Linked DNA regions of Homo sapiens: region 1 is linked to region 2. Evidence: promoter capture Hi-C in 16 types of primary human blood cells and fetal thymus (Javierre and others, 2016). All regions are on one chromosome and are shown on one strand. Each heading gives the region's core, a stretch centred on a gene start or on the middle of the fragment in contact. The rest is flanking DNA. Distances are from core to core; before and after follow the strand shown. Region 1 has its middle 37 kb from the start of DSE. Region 2 holds the start of CALHM6 (calcium homeostasis modulator family member 6).

Evidence for each region. Contacts are between HindIII fragments. The CHiCAGO score rates a contact against its expected background, and 5 or more counts as called.
Region 1: a contact is called between a fragment that was not itself captured here and the fragment with the promoter of CALHM6 in region 2, in 13 of 17 cell types (neutrophils, total B cells, naive B cells and 10 more). The highest score is 21.8, in neutrophils.

Annotation. Positions count from the first base shown.
Region 1 is chr6:116,330,375-116,337,180 of GRCh38, reverse strand. It overlaps a transcript of DSE not described here. Among named protein-coding and RNA genes, the nearest start is that of DSE, 37 kb to the left of the region's middle. The HindIII fragment of the contact is 3,663 bases long and covers 2,913-6,575 here.
Region 2 is chr6:116,455,950-116,462,624 of GRCh38, reverse strand. CALHM6 (calcium homeostasis modulator family member 6) reads right to left here and starts at 1,250. Exons shown (of 3, transcript NM_001010919.3): 1 at 1,196-1,250; 2 at 171-753. The coding sequence starts at 695. CALHM6-AS1 (CALHM6 antisense RNA 1) reads left to right here. Exons shown (of 2, transcript NR_174951.1): 2 at 1,431-2,147. It also overlaps the pseudogene KRT18P22. RefSeq lists a silencer at 185-264 and enhancers at 645-724, 735-844. The HindIII fragment of the contact is 9,761 bases long and covers 1-6,675 here.

The sequences.
Region 1 (6,806 bases), core at 3,495-5,994, 130 kb after region 2:
CTATATACGAGCTCTACCACTTATCAGCTATGTGATATTCAGCTAATATTCAATACTCTTTGTGCTTTGTGTTTCTTATGTGTAAAATAGGGATAATGATAGTAAAATGTACTTACAGCTCATGGGATTATTGCATTAAAAGAGATAAAATGTAAACACTGGCATTATTAATAAATCACTATGATTAACTATTCTCATTATAGTCATGCTGTTTTGTTGCTTTGAATCTATAGTCATGAAATGTAGCCTTACATATAGTGCTGACAATAAAATTATTATTTAATGATTCTTGAAAGCTGAATTTAGTAAGATTAATATTTTTTGCTACAAAGACTATGAACCTAGCCTAAAATACATAGTCAGATATTTTGAGCACAATATAATTGTACTAATAGAATTTGATGTTACCTTTTTTTTTTTTTTTTGAGATGGAGTTTTGCTCTTGTTGCCCAGGCTGGAGTGCAATGGCATGATCTCAGCTCATTGCAACCTCCGCCTCCCAGGTTCAAGCAATTCTCCTGCCTCAGCCTCCCGAGTAGCTGGGACTACAAGCATGCGCTACCATGCCTGGCTAATTTTGTATTTTCAGTAGAGACGGGTTTTCTGCATGTTGGTCAGGCTGGTCTTGAACTCCCAACCTTGGCTGATCCGCCTGCCTCGGCCTCCCAAAGTGCTGGGATTACAGGCGTGAGCCACTGCGCCCGGCCTACTTTTTTCTTTAAAACATGCAAGCAAATACATTAGACCATGTATCACTCAGGTAGGTGGCATTATAGTACTAATTTTTAAATAATACTGCCTTATCTTTAACACAACTCTTACAAATTATAACTGTTACATTCAGATGAGCAAGACTTTGGCTAAAATTAACTGTATCACATTATCTAGCATTCTGTAGGCTTGCAGACTAAATGCTAGATAACTATTTAGATTCTGTCTATGTCATCAAGAACTTTTTCAATAGGAGTGTATCTTCTGTTCATATACTGCAAGATATATATTTTAAATTCTTCTGTAAAACAGATTTACATTAAATGTAGTCAAAATAAAATTCTTCCTGGATTCCAAAGGAGTTGATATCTGACTACAAATGGACATCAGGGACATTCACATGCTGAACATAATTCTGAAAGAGATGTTTATGACTAAGTGCTGTTACAGTTTATGGGAATCCATTGTTTTGGACCAGCCTTCTGCACCAGACTCCCACAGACCAGACCAGACCAAAATAGTGTCACTCATGCAAAGTGCCTCATAATCAAACTGAACTTTAAGGAAGCTGATAGAGCCCCAAACAGAGCAGTTTTTCCTGAAAACAGGAGATTCACAGCAACTAGTCAAAGAGCTCAATCTTCCTAAGTCAGCATAATAAAGAGGTCTTCTCTGTTTTAACTCTTACAAGAAAAGTGACTTGTAGTAACTTATGCTATCAATGCACTTTTATTTATCGTTCTGTTGTCTTATTCCCACCTTACAAAAACCAACCATTCTATCATATCCAGTGGATCACTACTTCTGTTTCATAGAATGAAGTGTTGCCTGATTCTAGAATCACAAATAAAAGCCAATTAGATCTTCAAACTAAATTTGTTGTATTTTGTCTTTAACAGTACAATCAAACAAAGGAGAAGAAAATATCTTTTTTTAAAATTTAACTTTTAAGTTTAGGGGTACAAGTACAGTTTTGTTACATAGGTAAACATGTCATGGGGGTTTGTTGTACAGATTTTTTTGTCACCCAGGTATTAAGCCTAGTACTCATGAGTTATTTTTCCTAACACTCTCTCTCTTCCCACCCTCCACCCTTGCATAGACTCCAGTGTGTGTTGTTCCCCTCTTTGTGTCTATATGGTTTCATCATTTAGCTCCCACTTACAAGTGAGAACATGTGGTATTTAGCTTTCTCTTTCTGTGTTAGTTTGATAAGGATAATGGCCTCTAGCTCCATCCATGTCCCTGCAAAGGACATGATCTTGTCCCTTTTTATGGCTGCATAGTATTCCATGTTGTATATATACCACATTTTCTTTATCAAATCTATCACTGATGGGCATTTAGGTTGATTCCATGTCTTTGCTATTGTGAATAGTGCTGCAATGAACATACATGTGCATGTGTCTTTGTAACAGAGTGATTTACATTCCTTTGAGTATATATACAGTAATGAGGCCAATGGTATTTCTGTCTTTAGGTCTTTGAGGAATTGCCACACTGTCTTCCACAATGGTTGAACTAATTTACACTTCCACCAACAGTGGGAGGTTCCTTCTTTGCAACTTTGTCAGCATCTGTTATATTTTGACTTTTTAATAGCCATTCTGACTGGTGTGAGATGGTATTTCCTGTGGTTTTGATTTGCATTTCTGTAATGATCATTGATGTTGGGCTTTTTTTCATCATTGTTGGCTGCACTCATGTCTTTTGAAAAGTCTGTTCATATCCTTTGCCAACTTTTTAATGGTTTCTTTTTTCTTGTAAATTTGTTTAAGTTCCTCAAGATGGAGTAAAGACTTAAATGGAAAACTCAAAGCTATAAAAACTCTGGAAGATAACCTAGGCAATACCATTCTGGACGTAGGAATGGGCAAAGATTTCATGATGAAGATGCCAAAAGCAATTGCAATGAAGGCAAAAAAAATAAATAACAAATGGGATCTAGCAAGGAAACTATTAAGAGTGAGCAGACAACCTACAGAATGGGAGAAAATTTTCGAATACAGTATTTTTGGCAAAGAGAGCCTAATTCTCTGGATATAGTTTGTGAAATGTGGGCTTTGCGTGAATTAAGAGACCAACAGGGAGTAGAATTATTTGGGAATCACTTCAAATGGAAAAATAAGGTAGAATCCTTTATCTTTCAGAATATGATTTGACCTTAACTCTGCTAGAAGGTAGCAGAGTGATTTCAAGCTTTCTTTAAAAGGGTTGAAATGGGGACTTGCCTACTCTGAGTCAAAGCCTTGAGAATAAAATCTCATCTAGTCATTCAACAGACAATTGTGTGATATGCTGAAGATACAGAGACACAAAGATAAGAACTTGTCCTCAAGAATATTATAATCTAATGGTGGGAAACAAATGTGTAAATAGATTAGTACGACAATGTTCACTAAGTACAATACATTAAAATAAAGCATCTAGGAGAGAGATCAGTATAGCAAAGAGTCAAACTTCTTTCACATATTGCAATATTTTGGAGGGTTGTTTTTGAGAGGGGTTCTTGCTCTGTCACCCAGGCCGGAGTGGAGTGGTGCATTCATGGCTCACTGCAGCCTCGATCTCCTGGACTCAAGAATTGCAATATTTTGTAAACTGCATTGTCTTACCTCTGAGTAGGGAGCAAAAGGCATCAAGTAATGTAATTAAAGTGATATTTTTAAATTTAAAGAGAAATTTATAAATGTATAAGGAAAAACAGGATATATTTTTAAAGGATGCTTTTATAAACATGGTGAAAGAATATGTGGTTGAGAATGAGAAAGAGCTTGTTTAGATGGTGGCTCTTCCACTTAGTAGATTCATGGATTTATTAAAAATCTTTCTCTTTCTGAAGCCTCACTTTTCTCATCTGTAAAGTAGATATGTACATACCATAAAGATCAGTTGAGACATGCTATGGTTTGAAAATCCCCTCTAAAACTCATGTTGAAAATTAATTGCCAATGTAACGGTATTGGGAGATGGGGAGTTTACAAAGTGATTAAGTCATGGGGGCACTTTCTTCATGGATTGTCATTATCACAGAAGTGAGTTATCTCAGGAGTTTGGCCCTCTTTTTCTCTGTTTCATGCTCTCACTCTCTCTCACATTGTCTCACTATGTGATGCCTTCCATCATGTTATGATACAACAAGAATGCCCTCACCAAATATGGTCCCTCAACCTTGGACTTCCCAGCCTCCAGAACCATGAGCCAAATAAATCTCTTTTCTTTATAAATCACCAAGTCTATGGTACTCTGTTATGCAGCAGAAAATGGACTAAGACAAGACAAAAAATAGGTCAGTGCTTTCCACTGGGATGCATGAATTTATGTGAATATATGTAAATTCTATTCCGTTTTCATTGAAAATTTTATCCTGAGGAAGTACATTTACCAATTTTCACATTAGCAGTGAATAAGAATTCCTAGTGCTCTATATTTTCTCCCACAGTTGAGATTATCAGGATTCTTAAGTTTAGCTATTCTAAAGGAAGTCTGATGGTATATAACTGTGGTTTTAATTTGCATTTTCCTGATTACTAAAGAAATCAAAGACCTTTTCTTATACTTGCTGGCAATTGGGGTATCTATTTTTGTGAAATGCCTGAAGTCTTTTTGTCCATTTTTCATTGGATTTTTTTATATATTGATTTACTTTGTAGATGTACTTTATACCAGGCACAAGACTTGCATATGTAATATATTTTACCATGTAGCTTGACTTTTTACCAATTAAAGGTGTCTTTTCATAAACTGAGGCTCTTAATTTTAACTCTAAGTATCAGTCTTTTCCTTTACTGTAAGTACTTTTTTGTGTGTGTCCTGCTTAATATATAAACACTTAATTTATTTCAAATGTGTCTTTTTTCTAAACTCCAATTTGTTCCACTGATTTTTGTCTATTCTTACCCCAATACTGTACTATCCTAATTATCACAGACATAAGTATTAATATCCAGTAGAGCAACTCCTCTTACCTTTTCCCTCCTATTCAAGAGTGTCTTGTCTATACCTGTTTCTCTTAATTTTTTTTTCATATTTTAAAGAATTGAGTTTCAAACTCCTTTTCTCCCTGTGTCTCTCTTACACACACACACACACACAAACCAACTGGGATTTTGATTTGAATTTCTTTGGATCTAAAGCTCAGTTTCAGGAAAATTAACATTTTAAAAATGCTGAGTCTTCCAATATATAAATGTAGTACAAGTATTCATTGATTTGTCTTTTTTAATGTCTCTTGGGAATGTTTTATGTTTCTTTTACAACTGCTAAAATATTTATTTTTAGGTTTTAAATATTTTTGATCCTATTATGATTATTTTCAGTTTTATTTTCTGTTGTTGCTCATCATAGAAATGAAATTTTTAAAATCTACAAGTCGAGATTAGAATTGAGTTTAACAAGGTTGCTGGGATACAATTTTATTAAACTCAATTCTAAGAACTATCTGTAGAGTCTTTGAGTTTTTTTATATATATAGTCTTAGCAAATAATGGCAGTTTTACTTGTTCTTTTTCTTTTAGATGGAGTCTCACTCTGTTGCCAGGCTGGAGTGCAGTGATACCATCTTGGCCCACTGCAACCTCCGCCTCTCGGGTTCAAACAATTCTACTGCCTCAGCCTCCCAAGTAGGTGGGACTACAGGTGCGTGCCACCATGCCCAGCTAATTTTTGTATTTTTAGTAGAGACAGGGTTTCACCATGTTGGCCATGATGGTCTCGATTCCCTGACTTCGTGATCTGCTTGCCTCTGCCTCCCAAAGTGCTGGGACTACAGGCGTGAGCCACTGTGCCCGGCCTACTTGTTCTTTTCAATTCTTCTTCCTTACCACACTAATTAGGACTTTCAGTGGCAGGTAGCCTAGAAATGTTGGTAACTATTGATATGGTTTGGCTCTGTCCCCGCCCAGAACCTCATCTTGAATTGTAATCCGAATTGTAATCCCCATATATTGGGGGGTTACCTCGTGGGAGGTGATTAGATCATAGGGGCATTTCCCCCATGCTGTTCTCATGATAGTGAGTGACTTCTCATGAGATCTGATGGTTTTATAAGGGGCTTTTCCCCACTTCGCAGTGCACTTCTCCTTGCTGTCACCATGTGAAGAAGGATGTGTTTGCTTTCTCTTCCACCATGATTGTAAGTTTCATGAGGCCTCCCCAGCCCTGCAGAACTGTGAGTCAATTAAATCTCTTTCCTTTATAAATTACCCAGTCTTGGGTATTTCATCATAGCAGCAAGAGAATGAACTAATACAACTATTATCTTATTCCTGATCACAGAAAGAAAGTTTTCAGTATTTCTATGGTGTTTATTATTGGTGTTTTGTAGATACCCTGTATTTGATTAAAGAAGCTCTCTTCTATTCTTCGTTTGCCCAAAGATGTATTTTAATCATAAATAGATGCTTACTTTAACCAACTGCTTTTCTGCATCTAGTACAATTATCATATAATTTTTTCCTTTATTCTGTTAATGTCATAAATTCTCAGTTTTCTAATATTAAACTAACATTGCATAATTGCAACAAACTCAACTTGTGACATTTCATATATACATGTTGTATGGTTATCTAATATTAAGAATTTAAGCATATCTGTTCATGATTGAGGTTGCCTGCAATTTTTCCTCATCATTTAATGTTCATGTTCTTATATCAAAGTTGTGTTGACTTTATAAGCTAGGTTGGAGAACATCTTTGTTTTTCTGTTTTCTGAAAAGGCATAAAATCAGGGTATTTGCTAGACTGGAAGGTTTAAAATGAGTGATTCAGCTTTTTTGAGTCATAAGGAGATAGTCATAATTTCTATTTCATCATGTTGAGATTTATGCAGTTGTATTTTTTGTATTTTTCTTATCCTACTAAGCTTATAATAAAATAATCAAAACATCAAATATATTAACTAGAAATAGTTATTACCAAAATCGGTGGTAGTTGAGAGTTGTATTTAAGGGTAGCTCTTTCTATTTCTTGATTATTAAGAGTTCCCTTATTAAAATAAATTGCTTTTTGGCATAATTGTCAAAAACATATGTAATACCAAAAAGATTAAAAATGCATTTTGTTTTGAGTTAAAATGAATAGACGCATGCAGTGGCA
Region 2 (6,675 bases), core at 1-2,500:
TTTTATTCAGATATTCTCTTGACGGCAAATTAGATGCAAGGAGCCATTCTAGATTTTCTTAGGGTACTGTATATCTGGAGAAAAGTCACCGATTTTTCCCTCACCCCAGCGGCCCTGAGAAAGCTCGGCCTCTCGGCTCCTCCCAAACGCCCCCAGCGCCAGCGGCAGACCTGCGACTGAGCCTTCAGATCCTTCAGGAGGTCCTGCACGTCCGACGCCTTGGCCTGGTTGCACGGCACCAGCGGCAGCTCCGCGGCGCAGCTGCGGTTGCGGCCGAGGCACAGGCGCTGCGCGAAGGCCGCGCTCCCGGTGGCCGCGCACTCGTAAAAGGCGCCCCCGAGCAGCGCCACGGCCACCCAGGTGAGGGGCGCGAGCGCGGCGGCCGCGCTGATTTGCGTGCACACCAGGGAGCCGCGCAGCGCCGATCCGCAACTCGCGCGGGCGCTGGAGCAGCATCCGGTGAGCAGGCGCCACGTGCGTGCGCTCAGCACGTAGCCCAGGAGGAAGAGCGCGAGCGCCGGCACCAGCAAGAAGACCAGGCCGTAGGGCAGGTTCCAGGCGGCGCTGCACGGGCACTGGAATGCCACGGCGGAGAAGATGCGCTCCCCGCCCGCCGTCAGCAGGGTCACCAGGCCGTAGCCCAAGGCGCTGTGGTGCTTGACGTGCAGGTCCAGCACCGCCCGAAACTTCTCCATGAGCCTCGTCCCCCGGGGCGTCGCGCACAGGCCCAGATCCTTCTGCCTCTTCGTTGTCCTGCTTGTCAAATGGTTTTGGTGGGATGGGGACCGGGGCTTTCCACTCTGCGAGAAGCAGCCTTTTTTTTTTTTTTTTTAAAGGGAAGAGGGCTTCTCAGACCTTCCTAAAGTTTCACTTTCTCATTTCAGCCACACCACCTCTGGTTAACAGAACCAGGCAAGCAAACACCCCCAGGACCTTGACTTCTCTGGCACCCACCCCATTCCAAAGGCAGAGGCACCAGTTATCTTCCTCCCCCAATTCAGGAACTCTGACAGAAGGTTGACCTTGTTCCTTTATTACCACCAATCTGACAACGAACCAGGAAACTAACCTTCTTGACCCACGGCCGCCAGTTGGAAAAACTGGGAAATACCAGATTTTCCTCTATTGCAGCCACCCTAGTTACTAAGCCAGATCACAGTAAAACCAAATAATTATCAAAAAACTGATTACTTACGGGAAACATTATTCAAGGACAAATTTCTGGTTCCTCTTCCATAAGCTAAATCAGCAAAGTCCAGCTCAAGTTCTGGTACTTCTATGATGGGCGGCACCCTTTCCATCTCCCTACCGGACAGAGCCACCAGCCTAGTTCACACTGACTCTTCTCTCCTCTGCCTGATCTCCTTCAGGACATTAGACCAAATATACTGTATTGATTTACTCGTCAATACAATGTTCTTTTCTTTCAGATATGTCATAACACTGTCAATGCCTGGAGGAGAGTAAAATTCTGACTCTGACCACCAAGCTGATCTGCACAGAAGGGGATACATGATTATTCAAAGAATGCTAGTTGAACCCAAAATTTCAAACTGCAGCTACATCTATCTAATGTTGTTTCCTCCACCTTCAGTTTTCTCAAGCAGCGTTGTTCTGACACAAACACTGTAACCACTTTTGTGATATTGAGCCTTACTCTGTGTGACTCCAGACTGAGCTGAGGTGTGCTTGAAAGAACATGGGCTTTGAAGTCAAGTGCATCTTGTCTGTGGTGTGTTTAACAAGTATGCCCCTCTGAGACACAGCATCCTTATTTGTAAAAGAAGGATAATAGTGCCCACTTTTCAAGATTACTGACATGAGTAGATTGAGTAGCATATGTAAAGTGCCTTTACATATAGGATATGTCTGTTAAATGAATGATCAGTGTGAGAGTTTTCCCCTTAAAATGCAATTTGGGGAATAGACAACAAATAATTACATTGTACATAACCTAAGAATCTTGATGAATACTGAATTTTGAATTTTAAACGAGGATCAATTCAGTGGATAGTATTAAGTGACTCAATGACTCTGCTACCTTAAGAGAATTGGTGTACACCTTAGCTGTCTGCTTCACCACAAGGAGAGTATCTGGATATGGAGCTTGGGTGGGCAGTTCACAATGAAATGGTTCTTATTGGTGCCCATCCACCAGGCTTGCCTTATTTTATCTGGAAAGAATAGGTAGCCCATGGAACCAAGTGAATTTTTAGAGAATGGACAAGAAATGTATTATTCTTTTCTTAGTCCAACTTGCCTTCTTAACTACTCCCTCTCCAACACCACCAGCAGGGTGCCTAGCGTAGTGCCAAAAGCTGTCATTCCATAGTGATGTGGTAAATAGACATCTTTTTTCTATGTGTTTAGGGGCCAGCCCCAGATGAGGGTCTTCATGGTCATGCAGGAAAGTTGGGGCCCTCTTCTCTGAGATTAGACCAGATACTGCTAGGCTTCCTGTCAACTTGCAGCAAAGTTGCGTGTTTGAAGCGAATCACTTCTGCTCTGACTGTTATCTTTGTAATTTGTCATCTCCCAAGATAAATTTCTTCCCCTGTGCCTTGAGTAACTCTCCTCTTACTGCTGGACTCTTCTTCACCTCTACCATAATACTCTAAGATGTGTCCTCTCTCGTCCACCCTTTCCCATATTCCATCATGCAGAAACATCACTATATCCACAACCTTTGTGCAGATGGCTTTATCCAAATCTCCCCTAACCGAAACCTAATAAAAATGCATCCTTCTGTCTTCTTGAGTGAGATTAATTTATTCTCCCACATCTCTCAAACCAAGAGGGATGGCTGGCATTTTCCTGGTTACCTGCTGATAGCCATACCAGGGTTTTACCACTGTGCTATAATAGTTTATCATCCACTGAGGCTCAATCTAATCAGCACCATCTCCTCCTTCACCTCATTCCTATGGTCTGTTTTCATTCCCTTCATTTTTTAAGACTCTAATGAAGTCCATCACCTTCTCTTCCCTGGCTTCTGTTATTTAGTCAAGGATTTGTTTGAAATATGTTTACTTACAGAAACTTTTATCTATCAGCCCCCTTCCCCAACTAGATTAATTCATTTGTTAACCAGTTATTAATTAGTTCATTTGTTCATTCAGTCATTCATTTAAATGTTTAATAAGTACTCAGAATATGTCAAGTACCTATCAAAAGTGCCTGGTATTGCTGGATACAACAAGGAAGAAGACACAGGTATCCTGCCGTCTTTGAACTTACAGTAGAGATGATATAGGAAATGGAGAGGAGGGGTCCTAAAGATTACGCACAGGATAAATTGGAGTTAGAGAGTGTCCTGAAAGAGCCTCTGTGAGAAACTGACATTTAATCTGAATGAGTCTGGAGTACAAAGGAGCTTGGTTAGAAAGAAGGCTAGAGTGATGGGAGCATTGAGAATGACAGGCAAGTTGGCACATCATGAGGCCAAAGCTGCAAGTGGAAGGTCAGGTTTAGGTGCTTCACAGACCAGAATATGTAGTCTGCAATTCTGCCTCTGAAACTTTCACAGACTGAGCTGCATCCTGACATATTGTCTTGTCAGCTTGTGTCTCTAAACACCACCTCCTGGGTTTGCTACTTCTGTGCTCTCCCAAACCCAACTCTCCCAGATGCAATGATCATTCAGAACTTAGTACAGGTTTCTATAATTGAGAGTCCAGGTTTTGCCTGCCAGCCTGAATGTTTCCCCAGCACTTGGTCTTGAGTCTAGTACCCTGCCATCCACTCCCACCACCACTGGATTGACTGGTTCTAGCTCTGGGTCTATTGAAGATTCCCAGCCCTCCATACCCAGGTCTGTTCTGAGAGGATATTGCTCAGAAGTTCAGCCCTTAGTGGAAATTGACTAACACCCTAATGGTGTGGAGAGGTAGACTAAATAATATTTTAAATGTCTTTACACTTTTGAAAGCCTGTGATTTGCTTCAGCTGTTAAGAAATGAGTAGTAGAATGTCATCGGTAAAGCCTGAGTCCTGTCCTCTTGCTCTCCTCCCTGGACAGTATGAGCTTCACCACTTGCTCCACCTTCTCCACCAACTACCATTCCCTGGGCTCTGTCCAGACACCCAGCTTCATCGCCCAGCTGGTCAGCAGTGCAGCCAGTGTCTATGCAGGCACCCAGGACTCTGGTTCCCGGATCTCTGTGTCCCGCTCCACCAGCTTCTGGGGCGGCATGGGATCCGGGGGCCTGGCTGCAGGGATGGCCAGGGGTCTGGCAGGGATAGCAGGCATCCAGAATGAGAAGGAGACCATGCAAAGCCTGAACGACTGTCTGGCCTCCTACCTGGACAGAGTGAGGAGCCTGGAGACCGAGAACTGGAAGCTGGAGAGCAAAATCCGGGAGCACCTGGGGAAGAAGGGACCCCAGGCCAGAGACTGGAGCCATTACTTCATGACCATCAGGACCTGAGGGCTCAGATCTTCACAAATACTGTGGACAATGCCCGCATCGTTCTGCAAATCAATGCCTGTTTTGCTGCTGATGACTTCAGTGTCAAGTATGAGACAGAGCTGCCCATGTGCCAGTCTGTGGAGAGCGACATCCATGGGGTCCACAAGGTCATTGATGACACCAATGTCACTCGGCTGCAGCTGGAGACAGAGATCGAGGCTCTCAAAAAGCAGCTGCTCTTCATGAAGAACCATGAAGAGGAAGTAAAGGCCTACAAGCCCAGACTGCCAGCTCTGGGCTGACCGTGGAGGTAGATGCCCCCAAATCTCAGGACCTTGCCAAGATCATGGAAGACATCTGGGCCCAATATGACGAGCTGGCTCGGAAGAACTAAGAGGAGCTGGACAAGTACTGGTCTCAGCAGATTGAGGTGAGCACCACAGTGGCCACCACTCAGTCCACCGAGGTTGGAGCTGCTGAGATGACGCTCACAGAGCTGAGATGTACAATCCATTCCTTGGAGATCGACCTGGACTCCATGAGAAATCTGAAGGCCGCTTGGAAAGCAGCCTGAGGGAGGTGGAGGCCTGCTATGCCCTGCAGATGGAACAGCTCAATGGGATCCTGCTGCACCTGGAGTCAGAGCTGGCACAGACCCAGGCAGAGGGACAGCACTAGGCCCAGCAGTACGAGGCCCTGCTGGACATCAAAGTCAAGCTGGAGACTCAGATTGCCACCTACCAATGCCTGCTGGAAGATGGCGAGGACTTCAATCTTGGTGATGCCCTGGACAACAGCAACTCCATGCAAACCATCCAAAAGACACCACCCGCCCAATAGTGGATGGCGAAGTGGTGTCTGAGACCAATGACACCAAAGTTCTGAGACATTAAGCCAGCAGAAGTAGGGGACCCTTCGAGGAGCAGGAGGCCAATAAAAAGTTCAGAGGTCAAAAATAAAAAATAAAAAGAAATGAGTAGTAGAGTCTCACATTAAGCACAGTGTAAAGCCAATGGTTATGGGTTCCCTTTGGTTTCCTTTAACTGTAGTACTTTTTCAGCACTATCATTTTCAATGTCAGGAATGGGTTTCAGAAACCACAGAACATTTCTTGGAAAAGGAACTTCTTGAAAGGAAATGCACATACACACTGTGAATCTGAAAGTGTCTTGCAATTGTCTTCATGTGTGCTAGTTCTCAAACATTGTTCTCTGCGGCTCTCATAAGAATACAGACTAATGGCATGACCCTGCTTGGAATATGACTGCTGGATTCTTATACAACATTAATCTTGGCCCCAAGACCCTCCAAAAAGAGTAAAATCAAATTAATATTCAAATATCTTAGGTAACATATGCAAGAAGAAATGCCAGATGCCAAATTAAAAAGTTAGTTTACAAAATCTGACACTCCTAGTCTTAAAGGGAATATCTTTCTGAATGTTAAAATTTGTGGATATATTGCTCATGTTAGATAACATATTTGAAAATCTGGAACATGCTGTTGTCTTCAGATATTTTAAACGTTTATAAAAGTTTTTTCCAATGGAAGTGTAAAGCAGAAGGAGGGAAAGATCAGACCCTTTCCTTGGCACAGAGATGTCATTTGTTAAATGGCAATCCCATGACATTTCAAAAAAGCCTTTTAAAGATTTTTATTCCTCTCTTAGTGTGAATTTCCTAAGCCTATCACAAAAGTTTAAGTACTTATTGATTAACACACTAATTTTTGTTCTTGCAGCAGATAGTTATTTTAACTCTGTTAAAAGAAAAAACATAGCCAAATTAAATCTAACAGAGTTTAATTGAGCAAAGAATGATTCATGAATCTGGTAGCCTCTTGAGCCAGAGTAGGCTCAGAGAGAATCCCGTGGAAGATTTATAGACAGAAAAAGGAAAGTGACGTACAGAAAATGGAAGTGAGGTATAGAAACAGCCTGATTGGTTACAGCTTGGCATTTACCTTCTTTGAACACAGTTTGAACAGTTGACCCCCTTTGATTGGCCAAAACTTGTTGACTGGCACAACAGTAGGTTACAGTCTGCTTACATTACAGAGAAACCTTTAGGCTGAACTTAAGATACGTAAGGAGGCTGCTTTAGGATAAATTTGATTTAACAACTTAGAGAAACTAGATATGGCCAAGTCTTTGTTGACATCATCGTTGCTACCATTGTTGTTGTCACCGCCATCATCAATATCATCTGATACACTGAGGCTATTAAAGGTCCTAGTTAGTTTTCCTTCTGTGCTTTTTACGACCTAT